Linked DNA regions of Homo sapiens: region 2 is linked to region 1. Evidence: promoter capture Hi-C in human tissues and cell types (Jung and others, 2019). All regions are on one chromosome and are shown on one strand. Each heading gives the region's core, a stretch centred on a gene start or on the middle of the fragment in contact. The rest is flanking DNA. Distances are from core to core; before and after follow the strand shown.

What was found. The method cuts DNA at HindIII sites, captures the fragments that hold promoters and counts their contacts. A contact is called where the count stands out against the background at its distance.
Region 2: a contact is called between a fragment that was not itself captured here and the fragment with the promoter of CBLN1 in region 1, in 2 of the 25 tissues and cell types used here (H1 embryonic stem cells and dorsolateral prefrontal cortex).

What each region holds. Positions count from the first base shown.
Region 1 is chr16:49,280,580-49,283,324 of GRCh38, reverse strand. It overlaps CBLN1 (cerebellin 1 precursor), which reads left to right and starts at 1,487. Exons shown (of 3, transcript NM_004352.4): 1 at 1,487-2,123; 2 at 2,283-2,402. The coding sequence starts at 1,860. It overlaps SYNAGE (synapse stability regulating cerebellar lncRNA), which reads right to left and starts at 1,263. Exons shown (of 4, transcript XR_933530.4): 1 at 1,093-1,263. RefSeq lists silencers at 834-933, 1,304-1,413 and an enhancer at 1,766-2,383. The HindIII fragment of the contact is 18,550 bases long and covers 1-2,745 here.
Region 2 is chr16:49,058,624-49,061,410 of GRCh38, reverse strand. No RefSeq gene overlaps it. Among named protein-coding and RNA genes, the nearest start is that of CBLN1, 220 kb to the left of the region's middle. RefSeq lists an enhancer at 80-856. The HindIII fragment of the contact is 7,245 bases long and covers 1-2,787 here.

The DNA of each region.
Region 1 (2,745 bases), core at 238-2,737:
GCTCCCGACGCTGCGCTGGCTCCGCTGAGCACGCCAGGATCAAGGTCGCCTGGTGGGGACCGGAGCGCCAGGAGCCTGTGGGAAGCGTTCCAGCCGGCCTCTGACTGGGATCCGGCGCCGCGTTTCTGCTTTGGACTTGACTGACAGGTCCCCCCGCCCTCCCGCCGCCCTACTACCAGCCTGGGTTCATCCTTCAGGGCTACGTCTACCGCACCCGGGCTGGAAAGCCTGGAGCGCGCCCTTCCTCTCCTCATCTTCTCAGCTCTCCTTTCTCCCTGCCACTTGGCAAAGCTGCATTTTGACTTTCACGTTTTGGACTACGTGTGTGTAGTTCCAAGTCCATGCGTGGCACGAAAATCCACTTAGGGTAAAAATTATTCTCGAAAAATCGCCCATCTCAGGATCTGGTGTCTACACTCAAGGCTAGGAGGTGCAGGTACGGGTGCGTAAAGCATGCCGTAAGGGTGCACAGTAAATAAAAAGTACGGATGCAAAATGTAAATTTTAAGTGCAAAACAGAAAAGCAGTACTCGTTGCCGCCCCGCACGCTGGGTTTTAAGGGGCACGAAGGTGGGCCTCGGCTGCTTTTGCTCAGCCCCGCGTCCTCAGCGCCCGGCCCAGTACCCGGTACTCCGTAGGGGTTCAATGATCTCCCCTGAATAAGTGAACGAATTAACAAATGAATGAATGACCGCTCGATCCGACCTCCGCGGCCGGCAGAGCAGTCGCTGGAGAGGCGGGAGAGAGCGAGAGGCCAAGCTCCACCATCGCGGCCGCCGGCTGGGGCAGAGGGACACGGAGACACTCGGCGCCCCGGCTCCGCACCGAGTCCCCGCGGTGAGTGCCCGCCCAGCAGCTCCCGGGCACCACGTGCGCCCGCCAGAGCCGCGCAGGCCCCGCCCCGCCGCGCGCGCACGCGCCCTGCACCCCGGCCGCCGGGACCCTGAGCCAGGCTCGCCCAGCGCGCCGGCTGCCCTCGCGCCCGCGCCCGCTGGGGGGCGCTCCCCTCCCAACGGGCGCGCCCACAGGCGGGCAGGCGACTCGCAGCCTCCAGCGATTCCACTCCCGACCCCGGGGCGCGCCGCCTCCTACCTGAGGGCCGACGAGTGGGGGCGGGCAGGAGGGCCGAGGGAGGCGGAACAGGATCGAGGCGCGAGGCGGGAGTCGAGAAAGCGAGCGGCCGAGGCGACTCTCAGTGCGCGGACGCGGGCGCGCGCCCGCGCTCCCTTCGTCGACTCACGGCGAGAGCCCAACCCTGCTGCCGCGCGCCACCCGCCTCGCCGCGCCTAATAACAACGGCGCCCGGGGTCAGGTGGCCGAGCGCGGACAGCGCCGCCATTGGCTCGGTGGGGAGCGCGGCGCGTCAGGATTGGCTGGGGGGCGTGGCCTCGGCCGGGGCGGGGGCAGGGCCTCGGAGGGAGGCGGGCCGGGAGGCGGCGGGGGCGGGGCCAGGCCGAGGTCCGCGCCTTTGTGCCCGGCGCGCGCTCTCCGCCCGCTCCGGCTGCAGCGCCGGCTGCATCAATAATTCAGAGCGGCGGCGGCGGCGGCAGCGGCGGGTGCGGGCAGGAGGCGGCGGCAGCAGCGGGACCGAGCAGCAGCGGCTATGCATCCAAGTGCGGCTGGGCAGCCGCGGCACCCCTGAGGCCCGGGAGGGGCTCCGGGAACACAGCGCGGAGGGGACGCTAGTCGCGGAGGGGACGCTAGTCCCGGAGTGCGAGGAAGAGGTGTAGTGTCCAGAGCGGCGGCGGCGGAGCTGCGCACGGAGCTGAGGAGGGGGCTTCGGAGCGGGACTGGGACGGGGGGGGCGGCTGGCGCGAGCAGCCCTGGGGGTGGGGGGCGGGGTGGGCGCCGGCGGCGCGATGCTGGGCGTCCTGGAGCTGCTGCTGCTGGGGGCTGCGTGGCTGGCGGGCCCGGCCCGCGGGCAGAATGAGACGGAGCCCATCGTGCTGGAGGGCAAGTGCCTGGTGGTGTGCGACTCCAACCCCACGTCCGACCCCACGGGCACTGCCCTGGGCATCTCTGTGCGCTCTGGCAGCGCCAAGGTGGCTTTCTCTGCCATCAGGAGCACCAACCACGAGCCGTCCGAGATGAGTAATCGCACCATGATCATCTACTTCGACCAGGTGAGTGTTCCTTCCTCCCGCGGCGTGCAGATTGGGCTGGTGAAGGAGGGATGGATGGAAGACCGATGCCCGGTCCTCTCCAAGGGCTCTGCGGAGGCGCGGGGACGACAGTCCGGGACCGATTCCTGCCCACTCCCCTTCGTTCCCGTCTCGTTATAGGTACTAGTGAACATTGGGAACAACTTTGATTCAGAACGCAGCACTTTCATCGCCCCGCGCAAAGGGATCTACAGTTTTAACTTCCACGTGGTAAAAGTCTACAACAGACAAACCATACAGGTCAGCCGACGCCTCGTGCCGGGCCCTGGCCCCGTAGGGGGGTTACTGGCCTCAGGGGTGCTCGGGCTGTCCGGAGGTGGTAGGCAGAAGTGGCGGCTGCATGTACTTCGGGCTGCTTGGAGGGACAGATAGCGGGGCCTCTCAGTTCTGTGGCTTCAACTGTCCTCTGCTTTCCCTGTCTCTGGCTCTTGGGATCCAGCCCCATCCCCCGAGAGACAGAATTTTCTGCTTCTGCCTTCCGGGCCTCTCCGAAGGGTTCCCTGGATTTCAGGGACTTCCTTGTAACGGCTGTTGTTAGCGCCCCAGACAGCTGCCGCTTGGGAAGCCTTCCCGGACTCCCCAG
Region 2 (2,787 bases), core at 233-2,732, 220 kb after region 1:
GCTGAGATTTAAGCAGGTTCAGTAGCTGGCAGGGAACTGCTGAGATGGATTTGCTCTGGTCTGGATGCTCTGACCAGCGCTGTGTGAACAACCTGGGGTATGCATAGGTGCTGTGAAGACCTCCACTACTAGACAGCAAGGATCCAACTGCCTCTGTGAGCCTGGAGTCTATTCTCCCTGTGCTCAAAAGTTCCCTGTACTAAGAGCTCCCTGCACCCCCAGGAATGTAGAAACAAAAAGGGAAAGGGAACAGGGAGCCCCTGCATTCTTGACCTGCCCCACACCCCAGAAAAAATCTTGGCACTTCCCTCAGCCTGGCACTGAAAGAGTTAACCTGAAACAGCTTCCATGATGAATGGCTATAATACTGTCTACGTAATGGATTTCCTATTTAAATTTTGTGAGGATTTAATCAGTTGGGCGCAGCTGTGCAAGATGCACCATAAACTATGTTGAAAAATATGTAGACATATACATTTATCTGCTACAAATTAAGCTCACTTAGAGGTGGTCTTAATGGCCCATGTAGCCATCATTACAAGCATAAATTCTAAACTGTCTGTTTCCAGTGAATTTGCTTTGAGAAAAAAATTAATGCTCATCCTTAGCAGAGCATAGTAATAAATGAAAGGACCCTTAATTTGCAAAGCTCTAATAGCCTGGCCATTTTCCATTAGGAACCCCATGCTGGGTCATACATGGCAGGGTCTCTTCATGGGGGATTCCAGTGCCCAGGCTGGGGAGGGACAGGGGCAGACTTTCTGGAAGTCTACCCTGTGTGGTTTACCCAGTCTTTTCAGAGGAAGGCTAAAATCCTGATTCTAAAGCTAGGAGGTGAGCCTGCAAAAGAATATTAACAATAAAAAAAATATGAGTGCATGTTTCTTTTTGGTACAACGATTTATTTTCTTTTGGATATGTTCATCACGGCACTATTCACAATAGCAAAGACACGGAATCAACCCAGGTGCCCATCAATGGGTGGATTGGATAAAGAAAATATGATACATATGTGCCATGAAATACTATGCAGCCATAAAAACTGAAATCATGTCCTTTGCAGTAACATGGATAGAACCAAAGGCTGTTATCCTAAGCAAATCAATGCAGTGACAGAAAACCAAATACCATATTTTTCACTTATAAGTGGGAGCTAAACACTGAGTACGTATGAAAATAATTAAGGAAACAATAGATACTGTGGACCACTAGAGGGTGGAGGAAGGGGTAGTGAGTAAAAAAAACTACCTATTGGATCCTATGCTCACTACCAGGGTGATGGGATCTGTATTCCAAACCTCAGCGTCACACAATATTCCCACGTAACAAATCTGCACATGTACCTCCTGCATCTAAAACACAAATTGAAATTAAAAAAACAAAAATCCTTCAGTCTTGGCTGCATCCAGTGTGAGTGTGAGTGTGTGTCCAGAGACATACATTCAGATTTGCCCTGGCCATGATGGCAAAATGCACTCAGCACATGGTTAGCCCAACTGCGAGTGTGGATCTGGTGCTAATAGAACTCACAGCATGTGAAAGCTCTCCCACTTTCTCCACTTTCTCTCTAGCACTGGAAAAATGGCACAAAGGAGCTGGGTTTGAATCCCAGCCTGCTACCTTGGCACAGCCTGATCTGGCAGCTTGCTTCTCCAAATAGTCACAAAGAGCTGCCAGTTTGCAAGACATTCTCTCATTTCTCTCTTCACATCTCAGTTGATCCTTACTTCATGACAACCTTAGGAGGTAGGTGCAATTATTTCTCCTATTTTAATAGGGCTGGGGCTAGAGCAAAGCAAAAGAAGCACCCAGGCTACAAGATTTAAGGAAGCACTCACTTTCAAGGTCCTATCAGTGTCAACTCTTCATTTGCATGACCCTGACATGACAGCCTCCTTAAACTTTGCTCCTTAAGTGCCTCTTGCCACACTCTAGTTCCAGCTCTGGATAGGGACCCCAAGGCACAGAGAAGTTAAGTAACTTGTTCAAGGACACACAGGCACTGAGAGAGCTAGAGTACAATTCATGGCCATTTAACTCTGAATTCCAATGTCTTTTCTATATGCCAAATGATGGCCATTTGAATTGAAAAGTTTGATTTATTCAGCCCAAGTTGGGCATTTACTGTGGGCCAAACTATACAGCCAAAGCTTTCACATAAGAAATATCTCATCTCATTTTCTTCGTGGCATCCTTTACTTTCAGAAATAATCTTATCAATTCATTTAAAAAAAAGTTTGTGGCCTGTGTGCCCCACTAGAATATTCACTTTATCCTAGTGGCTAGAGCAGTGCTTGGCACATCGTAGGTGCTCAGTAAATATTTGTCAAATAAATTATCTTATTCAACAAATGTTTAAATGAGAAGTTGTATGAAACTAGTCTGATGGTTCTCATGCCTGGTTCCAGGTACCCCAAAGATGGGATCGAACCACTTAGGAAGTGCCATTTACTTCCTCTCTGCTAAGTGTCAGGTGTTCCCATAACTCAACCATCCTGGGAAAAGGAATTGGTGATGGAAAATCCAATCATAAAAAAATTAAAATCTAGGATGGTTTTGTCTGGTGCTTTTTCAGAAATGAAAAATGCAGAAACACTTTCACCAAAGTGTCTGATGGCAAGAATTGGGGCTGCATTAGAAAGTGGTAGAAGGGGCTGGGCACAGTGGCTCATGCTTGTAATCCCAGGACTTTGGGAGGCTGAGGTAGGATTGCTTGAGGCCAGGAGTTTGAAACCTGCCAGGGTAATAGAGAAAGACTTCTTCTCTACCAAAAAAAAAAAAAAAAAA